3 separate regions of the Homo sapiens genome follow, and regions 1 and 3 are each linked to region 2. The links are contacts of gene promoters, found by promoter capture Hi-C in blood cells and fetal thymus (Javierre and others, 2016). All regions are on one chromosome and are shown on one strand. Each heading gives the region's core, a stretch centred on a gene start or on the middle of the fragment in contact. The rest is flanking DNA. Distances are from core to core; before and after follow the strand shown.

The links. Contacts are between HindIII fragments. The CHiCAGO score rates a contact against its expected background, and 5 or more counts as called.
Region 1: a contact is called between a fragment that was not itself captured here and the fragment with the promoter of MXD3 in region 2, in 1 of 17 cell types (megakaryocytes). The highest score is 5.6, in megakaryocytes.
Region 3: a contact is called between a fragment that was not itself captured here and the fragment with the promoter of MXD3 in region 2, in 11 of 17 cell types (total CD8 T cells, monocytes, naive CD4 T cells and 8 more). The highest score is 10.6, in total CD8 T cells.

The regions. Positions count from the first base shown.
Region 1 is chr5:177,059,426-177,062,935 of GRCh38, reverse strand. It overlaps ZNF346 (zinc finger protein 346), which reads right to left. Exons shown (of 7, transcript NM_012279.4): 6 at 785-878. Among named protein-coding and RNA genes, the nearest start is that of FGFR4, 26 kb to the left of the region's middle. RefSeq lists an enhancer at 52-1,251. The HindIII fragment of the contact is 5,627 bases long and covers 1-3,510 here.
Region 2 is chr5:177,310,446-177,314,242 of GRCh38, reverse strand. It overlaps MXD3 (MAX dimerization protein 3), which reads left to right and starts at 2,345. Exons shown (of 6, transcript NM_031300.4): 1 at 2,345-2,482; 2 at 2,759-2,864; 3 at 3,546-3,575; 4 at 3,703-3,797. The coding sequence starts at 2,413. RefSeq lists enhancers at 1,211-1,270, 2,921-3,120, 3,378-3,797 and silencers at 1,491-2,060, 2,191-2,370. The HindIII fragment of the contact is 10,591 bases long and covers 1-3,797 here.
Region 3 is chr5:177,551,290-177,555,086 of GRCh38, reverse strand. It overlaps FAM193B (family with sequence similarity 193 member B), which reads left to right and starts at 524. Exons shown (of 9, transcript NM_001190946.3): 1 at 524-838. The coding sequence starts at 629. FAM193B-DT (FAM193B divergent transcript) reads right to left here and starts at 459. Exons shown (of 3, transcript XR_941274.3): 1 at 158-459. RefSeq lists enhancers at 266-415, 436-595, 322-825 and silencers at 706-915, 1,246-1,355. The HindIII fragment of the contact is 899 bases long and covers 1,688-2,586 here.

The DNA of each region.
Region 1 (3,510 bases), core at 235-2,734, 250 kb after region 2:
ACGCCTTGGGAAGAGCATGCTGTGAGCCAGACAGGCTTCAGTTTGAATCATGACCTTGCTTCATTCACATCACCACTTTGAATGCTGGTTGTCTATATGTATAAAATGGGAATAATTATCTCTTCCTCTCAGGGTTGGAAGGATTACCTGAGAAAATCTGCTTGACATATGGCCTGCAACAGAAGAGGGGCTCAATGAATGTTAGTCACTTCCAAGATTACCATGAACAGGTAACTCTCTGTTCACCTGGTTCCTTCAAAACCCTTATCACAATCTGTGATTATTGGTTGTTTACTTGCTTAGTCTGTTTCCTCCCACCAGGCTGTAAGGTCAGGAGAGCAGAGACTGGGTCTGTCTTGGCCATCATTCAGAAGATGCTCAATATATATTTGATTAAGGAATGAGAGGGCCTGGTCATATTTGATAATGACCTATAGAGGGAACTCCTGCCAGAAAAGGAGAGGGTCTCCAGGCCAGTGGAAAAGCACTTCCCCAGTCAGAGTGCTACAGACTAGGACAGCCAGGTGTTCTTAGGGTCCCACCAAGGAAATCATGTATGCTTCTCTATTAAACCCTTGAGTCCAACAGGTCTAAAGGCTGGGCAGAAGCTGGTGGAGAAATACATATAGAGGAGACACTTGTTCCTGTTACATGATTCATCTTCTGTTCACTGAAAAAAGACTGCCAGGATTCCATTTCAGCCGAGAACTACCTGGCTTTGTTCTGATGCAGAAGTCCTGAGCTCCTGCTATGGATCCTAGAATTTCAAAAAATGGTTACTTACTGGTTCTTGTGTTTGAAGCCGCTGACATGAGCTTGGTACTGTTCTATGGAGTTCAGCACTATCTTACATGTTTTGCAGGGGTAGCCCTTTCCAGCTGAAACACATCAAAATCAAGATCTTAGTAATCCAGAAAGAAGGAACCTGAAGACCGTTGCTTTTCAGAGTGTACAAATGCCCTTCTAAGGACGGACAGGTGAGGCGAGGTGAGGTTGCTGGCCCTGATGAGAACCCAGAGGCCACAGTGCTAAGGAGGCACAGACTGTGTGCCTATGTGCTTCCTGGGGTTGGGAAGATCCTCATTCCTGTGTCCCTCGTTCCAGCGTAGAGCCTGGCCCAGACTAGCTGTCTGCTGAGTGATAAAAGAATGACAGAACAGAGAGGTGACATTTGGTCTGTATTTCTACCTTGACTGTGCTAAGTGGCCTCATTAAGGACGTCCTTCACTGAGAGATCTCTGGGAAGGTGCCACTCTCCTAGGGCTTGCGGTAACAGTAATTAGTGAGAACGCTGGTTATGATAATCAATCTGTCTTTCTACCCTGGGAATCACAGACCCTATCTCAGGGCTGCTCCAATGACAAAGTGGCTTTTCCCACATGGTCTGGTAGTGAGGGAGGAGCCAGGATAGGGAACTGAACTGCTGGTTCTGCTTTCAAGTGATCTTAGCTAGATCCTTTCCTTTCTTCTGATCCTTTTCTTTTCTTTTTTTGAGACGGAGTCTCGCTCTGTGGCCAGGCTGGAGTGCAGTGGCGCGATCTTGGCTCACTGCAACCTGTGCCTCCCGGGTTCGAGGGATTCTCCTGCCTCAGCCTCCCAAGTAGCTGGAACTACAGGCATGTGCCACCACACCCAGCTAATTTTTGTATTTTTGGTAGAGACAGTGTTTTATCATGTCGGCCATGATGGTCTCTCTCTCTTGACCTCATGATCCATCCGTCTAGGCCTCCCAAAGCGCTGGGATTATAGGCGTGAGCTACCGCACCCGGCCTGATCCTTAGCTTTTCTTACCCTCAAACCAATTACACCGCAACTTGTTTTTTTTTGAGACAGTCTTGCTCTGTCGTCCAGGCTGGAGTGCAGTGGTGCGATCTTGGCTCACGGCAAGCTCCGCCTCCCGGGTTCACGCCATTCTCCTCCCTCAGCCTCCTGAGTAACTGGGACTACAGGCGCCTGCCACCACACCTAGCTAATTTTTTTTGTATTTTTAGTAGAGATGGGGTTTCACTGTGTTAGCCAGGATGGTCTTGATCTCCTGACTTCGTGATCCACCCGCCTCGGCCTCCCAAAGTGCTGGGATTACAGGCGTAAGCCACCACCCCAGCCCACAACTTATTTATTTATTTAGAGATGGAGTTTTGCTCTTGTTGCCCAGGCTGGAGTGCAATGGCGTGATCTCTGCTCCCTGCAACCTCTGCCTCCCAGGTTCAAGCGATTCTCCTGCCTCAGCCTCCCAAGTAGCTGGGACTACTGGTGCGTGCCACCATGCCTAATTTTTCTATTTTTAGTACAGACAGGGTTTCACTATGTTGGCCAGGCTGGTCTCAAACTCCTGACCTCAGGTGATCTGCCCGCCTTGGTCTCCTCCCAAAGTGCTGGGATTACAGGTGTTGAGCTACTGTGCCCAGCCCAACTTATTTTTGATTTTTTTGAGATGGAGTCTCATTCTGTCACCCAGGCTGGAGTGCAGTGGAGGCACCTCCGCCTCCTGGGTTCAGGCAATTCTCCTGCTTCAGCCTCTCGAGTAGCTGGCATTACAGGCGTGCACCACCACGCCCGGCTAATTTTTGTAGTTTTAGTAGAGATGGGGTTTCACCATGTTGGCCAGGCTGGTCTCAAACTCCTGACCTCATGATCCACCCACCTCGACCTCCTAAAGTGCTGGGATTATAGGCGTGAGCCGCCGTGCCTGGCCACACCTGGGTAATTTTTGTATTTTCTTCTTTTTGTAGAGGTGGGGTTGTGCCATGTTGCCCAGGCTCCAAACCTCCTCACGCTGGAACCAGGATGATCCGCCCGTAAAGCTCAAACTGGCAGCGGCTTCCCAGTCCCAGTGCTCTCAGGGTGAAGGCCCGCTGCCCTAACATGACCCACAAAGCCATGCGTGGACACCTGCTCATGTCCTCCGCGTCACTACGTCCCATACTATCCTACTTGCCCTCTGGGGTGCCTTTCTTGATCCCTGCTCCCCCATCTTATCTCCTCTCATTTTATGTGCCCACAGTCTTGCATTTGTCTTTTTTTCTGAAGTTTGTCACAGTTGTAACTGTTTGCTCAATGCCTGTCTTCTCTGCTAGACTGTAAGCTCCATAAGAACACAGACAATACCTGTCTTGTTTACTACGTATTTACCACAATGCCTGGCACATATTAGGTAAAAGTCCAATAAATACTTATTGACTATATATGAATTTAGTAAGACTTGAAAACTTGTCCTGTATATAAAAGCTGAAGAAACTGGGGGACCAGCATGGGGCTCAGAAAGCAGCTCTACTGAGTGGGAGATAAGACCCTAATTAGGGAAAGTAATGGGGTGAAGCAGAGGATTTCAGTAACCTGGAGGGGACATTCAATGCTCTGGGGGCAAGAAGGATTTGCCTGAATGCTATGTAGGTTTTAGTTCTGGCCTTCTTGGGTGAATATGAGAGAAACACAAGCCTGGAGTATAAAACCACTCTAAGGCTTATTTGATCTGCGTGGTAGATGATGCATTTGCCCCTGGTGGGATTT
Region 2 (3,797 bases), core at 1,096-3,595:
GTGTCTGCACTGCATGGTGCTGACTTTAGTGAAATAAAATTGGAAATTCATTCACAACCCTTGCGGCTCCTTCCTTCAGAGATGGCTGATTGCAGGGGGGAGTTTGGGGGAACCCATCAGCATGTTCTGGGCCCTGCAGCCTCTCCAGTGTCAGCCTGCACCAGGCTATTTGCTCTCTGTAAGCCACACCGCCCCTGCCATGCTCCTTTCAGCCCCAGGGCCTTTGCATGTGCTGTTCCTTTGTCTAGAATTCTTTCATCTCTCCTATACTTAGATAACACCTCTTCATCCATTTCCCCAGTAAAGCCTTCTCTGGCCTCACCAATTAGGTCAAATGTTCCTTAGAATGTGTTGTGGGGCATGGTCTCTCCCTGTGAGGACCTGTCCAGCTGGACCTCCGCCTTCCTGCGACTGTATTGGTGTCTTTCCCTCTCAAGCCTATGAGCTCTGCAAGGGCAGGGACCCTGTATGATTTTGCCTATCGTATGTCCTCCAGCCCCCAGCACAGCGCCTGGTGTCCAGTGAGAGCTCAGCAAATACTTTGTGAGTTAAGGACAGGCGGCTGGGTAGATGGATCGTCTGCCTAGACAGGGCAGTTATTCCGCTGTGAGCAACTCTTAGAGAAACTTCATTTTTTTTCGGCGCCTGGCCGAAACTTCAAGATGTTTCCCGGCCAGGAACGGTGGCTCACACCTGTAATCCCAGCACTTTGGGAGGCTGAGGTGGGTGGATCACCTGAGGTCAGGAGTTCGAGACCAGCCTGGCCAACACGGTGAAACCCCGTCTCTACTAAAAATACAAAAATTAGCTGGGTGTGGTGGTGGGCGCTTGTAGTCTCAGCTACTTGGGAGGCTGAGGCAGGAGAATTGCTTGAACCCGGGAGGCGGAGGTTGCAGTGAGTCGAGACTGAGCCATTGCGCTTCAGCCTGGGCAACAGAGCAAGACTCAAAAAAAAAAAAAAGATTTTTCCCAAGGAACTGAGGCCTGACTGACATGTGCTTGTGTTTACCAGGACTGTCTCTTTACAGAGCATCTATCCCTCCCACCTTCCCTCCCCTCTCTATTTTGGGATTACTGGAGTCACAGACTCAGCCCGTGGCTGGCAGCAATGCTCCACCCTGCTACAGCTGCGTTCATCTTCCTGTCCCCAGATGTGGCCCCACCTGCTGGTGCTGAGGCTAGAAGTCATCACAGCCACTCCTTCGGCCGGCTAGGAGAGTCAGGTGCAAGAAGGGTTTATGGACTCTGAGTAAGGCAAGCAGGGGCTGCCTGGGAGGCAAACGCCGCGGTCTGGTTGCACTGGCCTTTGAGATGGGCGGCTCCTTCATGCCATGGGCACCGCAGAGGCATTGGCTCTGATCCTTCAACGCTGTCGCAGGGCTCCTGAGGCTTAGAGACGGAGGTCACCTCCTGAGTCATACACAGCTGAGACATCAGTGACAGGAGAGGACCCCAACTGCGTGGATACCAGAGCCCAAGGCCCCGGAAAAGGCCATTTCGCGTGCCTCCAGGGTATGGCCTGCCTGAGGAAGCTGTTACCCCACTGACGTTTTCGTAGCAACAACAGCTTCCTCACAGAAGAGGAGGGGGGCCGAGATATTATTCCCATTCGACACAGTAGGAAGCTGGGGCCCACGGGGGCCTTCGGGGGCAGATGGCAGGCAGGCTTGGGGACAGACCCCGGAGGGCAGGAGCCGGGTCCGCCGCCCCTCCGCCGGCGCCTGCGCATTGAGGCCCAGCTCCCCTCTCAACCCCGCCCCATCGCTTGGGTTTTCAAATTTGAAACCTGCTTCTTTTCCCGCCCGAACGTGTGGATCAGCGGCGGGAGAGGGCGGGGCAGAGCGCCAGCCAATAGGGCATCAGAGGCTCCCCGACCCCGCCCCGAGGATGACAACAGCGATCCTTGAGAAGCCATGTGCGAATGGGCGAGCGGCGGCCGGAGGCCCCGCCCCCGCGGCACCCACGTGCAGCGGCTGGGCCCGGCGCTTTCAGGGGACCACCAGGCCCCCAGAGCGCCGTGCTATGTTGGGGGCTAGTCACTAGCACGGGGCTGGAAGCTGAGATCAAAGACGCCAATGAGCCGGCGTGGGTGGATGAGTGAGGCGGGCAAGAAGCAGCACCGGTTAGCCTGAGGGTTCGCTCCAGGGCCAGGCCTGGAGCCAGCGCCCTTACCTGCCCCTGGAAAGTCTGAGACCACTCGGGGCGGGGCGGCTGCCGGAGGGTGGGCTGCGGCTCCGTGGCGGGTTCCAGAGGGGCGGAGCCAAGGGCTGGGCGTTCCCGCGGGCGGGGCGTCCCGGGGGCGGGGCGGGCCCCTGTGTTTGTTGCACCGTGTCAGTTACTTTGTAACAAAAGTGCTGCAGCCGCTTGCTCCGGCCGGCACCCTAGGCCGGCCCGCCGCCAGCTGTCGCCGACATGGAACCCTTGGCCAGCAACATCCAGGTCCTGCTGCAGGCGGCCGAGTTCCTGGAGCGCCGTGAGAGAGGTGAGGAAGGACCCTTGGCTGAATTCCGGGCGGCGACCTCGCTGACACGGGCCTGGACTGGACCTGGCTCCCAGCTTGAAGGATGCACCGCCCTAGGACAGTAATCCCGGGGCGCCTCGCCCTCAACTCGAGAGGAGTCCCGGGGCGGTAGAGCAGGGACGGGTGGGGGAAATGGTCCTGGCGCCAAAAGCCTTTCCTTGACCGTGCTGTGCCTGGGGCTGCCGCTGGGACCAGGTCCAGCCCCAGCCTGACGCGGGCGGGGACTCTCTCTGGCAGAGGCCGAGCATGGTTATGCGTCCCTGTGCCCGCATCGCAGTCCAGGCCCCATCCACAGGAGGAAGAAGCGACCCCCCCAGGCTCCTGGCGCGCAGGACAGCGGGCGGTGAGGAGGCCGGGGGCGGCGGGAGTGGGGGTGGGGGTGGGCGCCGCCCCTGGTCGGGCCCTCCTCTGCCCACTTGTTGCTTGCATCTTTTGGGCCAGGTGTCCCGCTCCAGGAAGCGTTCAGACCCCTCCTGCCATCTCCCCACTCTCCAAACACACTCACACCTTTCTATTCATTCAAGGACTATTTCTTGAGCACCTCTAGATGTGCCGGGAACTGCCAACAGCAGTTGGGGTCCCGCTTCCACTCGCACTCCCGCACCCCACACATCAGGCCACTCACCTCCCCCGCTGGCTTCCTCCTCTTCTCTCCTCTCCCCAGCCCTTTGCATATGCTGTTCCCTCCTATTTGAATGCCCCTCCCTCCAGTACCGGCTTGGGAAACATCTGTTTCCGCAGTTAGCTGTCACCTCTGGGAGGTCCTTTCTGGCCAGCTGGCAGGCGCCCTTGTTAGGGCCCTCATACCCACCTGGGCAGGCTTCTGTTAAGCATTTGGCTCCGTGTGTCTTTGACTCCCCTCGCCCTGCCAGGGGACTCTGGTGTCTGAGGCCAGCATGAGCTCTCCACAGGGGACTTGTTTGGGGCAGACATCTGTAGTGGCTCTTGAGCCACTGGGGGCCCTGGGATTGGGGCATGGGCAGTAGCTGATTCCCCTTCACCTCATCCTCTCTGGCATTGGCAGGTCAGTGCACAATGAACTGGAGAAGCGCAGGTGAGTCCCAGTCCTGCCCTGACAGCGCCAGCCCCCAGGGGCCACTGCCCTCTGGCCTTCCCTCCCCTGCCATTCCTGTGGCCGGCAAGGTGGGGCTGGCACTGCCCTCCAGACCTCTTCCCCACAGGAGGGCCCAGTTGAAGCGGTGCCTGGAGCGGCTGAAGCAGCAGATGCCCCTGGGGGCCGACTGTGCCCGGTACACCACGCTGAGCCTGCTGCGCC
Region 3 (3,797 bases), core at 888-3,387, 240 kb before region 2:
TGTCCCAAGCACAGAACGCTGGACTCCCAGTAGACCATATGTTGCAAATAAAGACCTTCGTCCCTTTCAACTCAGGCCGTCCACGAGCCCAGGAGTTCCAACAAAATGATGTACAGCAACCTTTTCCAGGCCTTTATGTTGCCTCAATATTTCTCACCTGCAAAATGGGAATGATCCGTACCTGCCTCGCTGTGCTGTCGGAAGGAGTCAGACGATGGGTGTGAAAGTATTGTAACACTATAGAAATTAATTCACTCATCCATTTAACAGGCAATTATTAAGTGCTAGGGTGGTGCAGCGCGATTACCACCGCATTACACGCGTTCCTCCAGCAGGTTGCATCCTTCCCGTCCCGCGTAGGGGGGGAAGGGCGTCTCCCCACCAAGTTTTTCTCCCAGCGAACTCCGGGTGGTGACCTTATTCAAAATGGCGCAGGCGGCCTCGGGGGCTAGTGCGGCGGCGCGGACTCCGCGTGCCCTCTGACCTGTTGGCAGCAGGCGGAGGGGGGGAACCGGGCGCCGCCATATTGGCTGTTGTCCTGTGAGGGGAGCGGTAGCGGCGGCGGCGGCGGCGGCGGCGGCGGCGGCGGCGGCGGCGTGTGGAGCGAGGGAGCGGCGCGAGCGGCGGCATGACGCGGAGGCGGAGCAGGCCGAGCGGCGGTGCGGGCAGGCGCGAGCGGGCTCGGGCCGCGGGGCCGCAGAAGCCCCAGGCGCCCGAGCCCCCGCCGCCGCCAAGCCTGGAGGCGGGAGCGGGTGCAGGCCCTCCGGAGGCGCCGGCGGAGCCCGACCACGACGGCCCCAGGGAGGATGACGAACCCAACCTGGTGCCCGGCCCGCAGGTAGGAGCGAGCGGGGAGACTTCGGCGGCTCGGGCGCTTTCACCTTCCCCGAGCGGGAGCGGGAGTGGGGCGGGGTTGGGGATGGGCCATCCTGCCGCGGCTGGGGTAGCAGCCTTCCCCCGGGTCCGGCGCCGAAGCTTTCTCCCCCGGGGCGGGAATGGAGGCTGGACCCCTCTCCCCAAAGCCGAGGCTCGGTCCGCGCTCCTGCGACTAGGCTGAAGCTGCTCCCCTCTCCCCGCCGCCTCCGGGCGTTCCGGCCGTACACCCACACTGGGACTGGGACTGGGACTGGGCTGTGATCCCGAGGCCGCAGCTCCGCTCTCGGCCCGCCACCTCCCCCGGGCCCACCTGCTCCCTCAGCCACAGGCCATCTCGGGGCTCTGGGACTGGACGACTGCAGCCTCTTCCCTCTGCCCCCGGGAACGGCTCCACTCCGTCCCCTGCAGCGCCTGCAGCCGCGGCCCCCTCAGCAGCTGTGTCTCCTGGCGCCTCCTCGCCATACCCAGCAGAGCAGTTGGAGCAGACAGCCAGGCTGCCCGGAGGAGTTTTTGGTGGGGTTTCTGCACTGAGGTGGAAACCCAGCAGAACCTGCCCTTCTTCCCTCCCCTGCTCCGCAAGGCAGCCCACCCCGACCTTGAGATCCCAGGTTTGGAGAATCCTGCTGAGAGCGAACAGTAGGAGGATTCCCCAAAGCTTCCAGCTTGCCACCTGGAAGAAGGTCACTTTCTTTTGAGCAAAGGAGATAACGGGAGGTACCCTGCCAAAGTTCACTGAGAGGCGGGGGTGACATGGGCCACGGTTGCTCTGGGAGGGTTGTGGCACTCGGGGCTGGGTGGCTCTCCCTAAGCTTGCTCTGACAAAAGAGTTTTGAGTTGGTCTTTTGGCTGAGCCTGCCCAGGAAGGCAGGCTCCTGCAGGAGTCTTGGAGGGTCGGATGCGGCGCCGGATGAGGATGAGGCGTGGCGGAAGATGCGTTTGGCTCTGCAGACACTGCATCGGGCAGCAGGGGACTCTGGGAGGCTGGTGCAGCCAGAAGGCATGGCTCTTGACAGCCTTCTAGTAGAATCTCTGGAATTGTGCATGTGAGTGGGGTTGCCGTTTGGGGTACCTTCCCACAAAGCCTCCCCTGACCTCCCCAGTTGCGTCAGGTGCCCTCTCTGTGCCCACAGCCCTCTGTGCCTCCCTCTGGTAGCACTCCCCTTTCTGTGATGAAACATTGTGTTGATATGTCTGTTGCCTGCCCTGGACTGTGAACTCCACAGGGACACAGGCTATGCCATCTTTCTCTGATCTTCCACGCCTCGCCCAGGGCCTTGCTAACACAGAATAAAAATAACTAGGTGAATGAGAGAGAAAATGAATCGGTCCAGAACCCGTGCTTATTGTAACCCAGTTTTCATGCTGATTTCCTTTGTGTCTCAGATCACAATAAGGTTTTTAATTAATGAAAATGTCAGCACTTACTGAGTGTCAGAAGCTCCACCTTCATCCGCATCCCCATCTCCTATCCTAGGCTGACACTTCCGTAGGAGACTCCCCAGGTTGGACCCCCAACCCCTACTGGGTCTAGCTTCCAACCCCAAAGCTGCTTCCCCCACCAGCCTACTCTGGGACCCCCGTGGGAGTGCTGTTATCCAAAAAGGGAGAGTGGGAGAAGGGAGAGCTGGAAAGCTGTTGTCTTCTCTTCTTCCCATTCAGCAGACCATAGAATACTTCAGGGTCTCTGCCACATAGAGATGCCAAAAAGCTTGGATGATGGCTCAACCATTCAGTTTTTATTAAGGACACAACTTTGCCAAGAGCTCTAAGCTTCATCAATTTCTTTGACATCTAGGTTCCTACCATGTTCTTACCTACTCCACTACTTGACCTGCTGATTCATTTATTTGTGCCAGGCACTTTACATACCTTACTTCTAATCTTCCCACCTCACCTGTATTTCTCCGCAGCGTTTAGCACAAATATGATGAATTGACCATTGATGTGATTATTTGTTTTTATTTGTGAACTCTGCGAGTTCAGGAGCCATGTCAGTCACCATTGTACCCCTGTGCCTGGTGGTTAACAAATATTGATCAACAAACTGGAGGATATAATTATCATTACTCCATTTTTCAGATGAAGAAACAGAAACTCAGAGCAACTAAACATTTGCCCAAATGACTCCAACTGTAGGTGTCAGACAAAAGAAAAGAAAAGGACTTTTAGGTACTTTGGGGGATTTTCAACAAGGCATTTTTTTTTAAACTATAGCCCCAAAGAAGGGAAACAAACTGGTAAATTCGGTTCTAGTTATGCCCCACTTTGACCGGGGGTGGGGTCTGGAAGCAGGCTTTTGTGCCCTGGTGCAAAGCACCTAGTGTAAGGGTAGGGTTCAGTCATTGCTCTGCCTACAAGCGTGTTTTTGGTGAGGAACTCTGGCTCCCATTGCCACTCATAACCCTGTCTTACATCTACAGAGTGGATAAGGAAGATGAAACTCAGTGTCATATACCAAACTGAATCCAAAGGTGGCAAATAAGACCACTTCCAGTCCACAGGCTTGTTGTAATGCCCCAGCTCACATATTGTTTTGTTTCTGTTTTTATTTTCATTTGAGCCAATATTTTAAAGATCAAAAGGTTTCCCACACATTTGGATTTGGGGCTCTTTTTTAAACTAAAGATATGGTGATGCTGGGTCCACTTTTCCACAAGGCAGTAATCAGTAGTCTCTGAGTAGCATTTGGCCCTTTTAGACAGCGTATGCTCCTTAGGCATCTTTGGTTCTTTCCAGGCCCCTTCACTCATTGGCATAACCTGTACACATTTAAAGCAGGACCTTGAGTTTAATTGGGATCCCAAATGGCTTTCAATTGTTTCAGGCCACTAAACCACATTGATCTGTTTCCTAACAACCCAAATCCTCGTTTATAGCACAAGAAGGCTGAAACAGTTACTACCTTATTAGCAAAGGAAAAC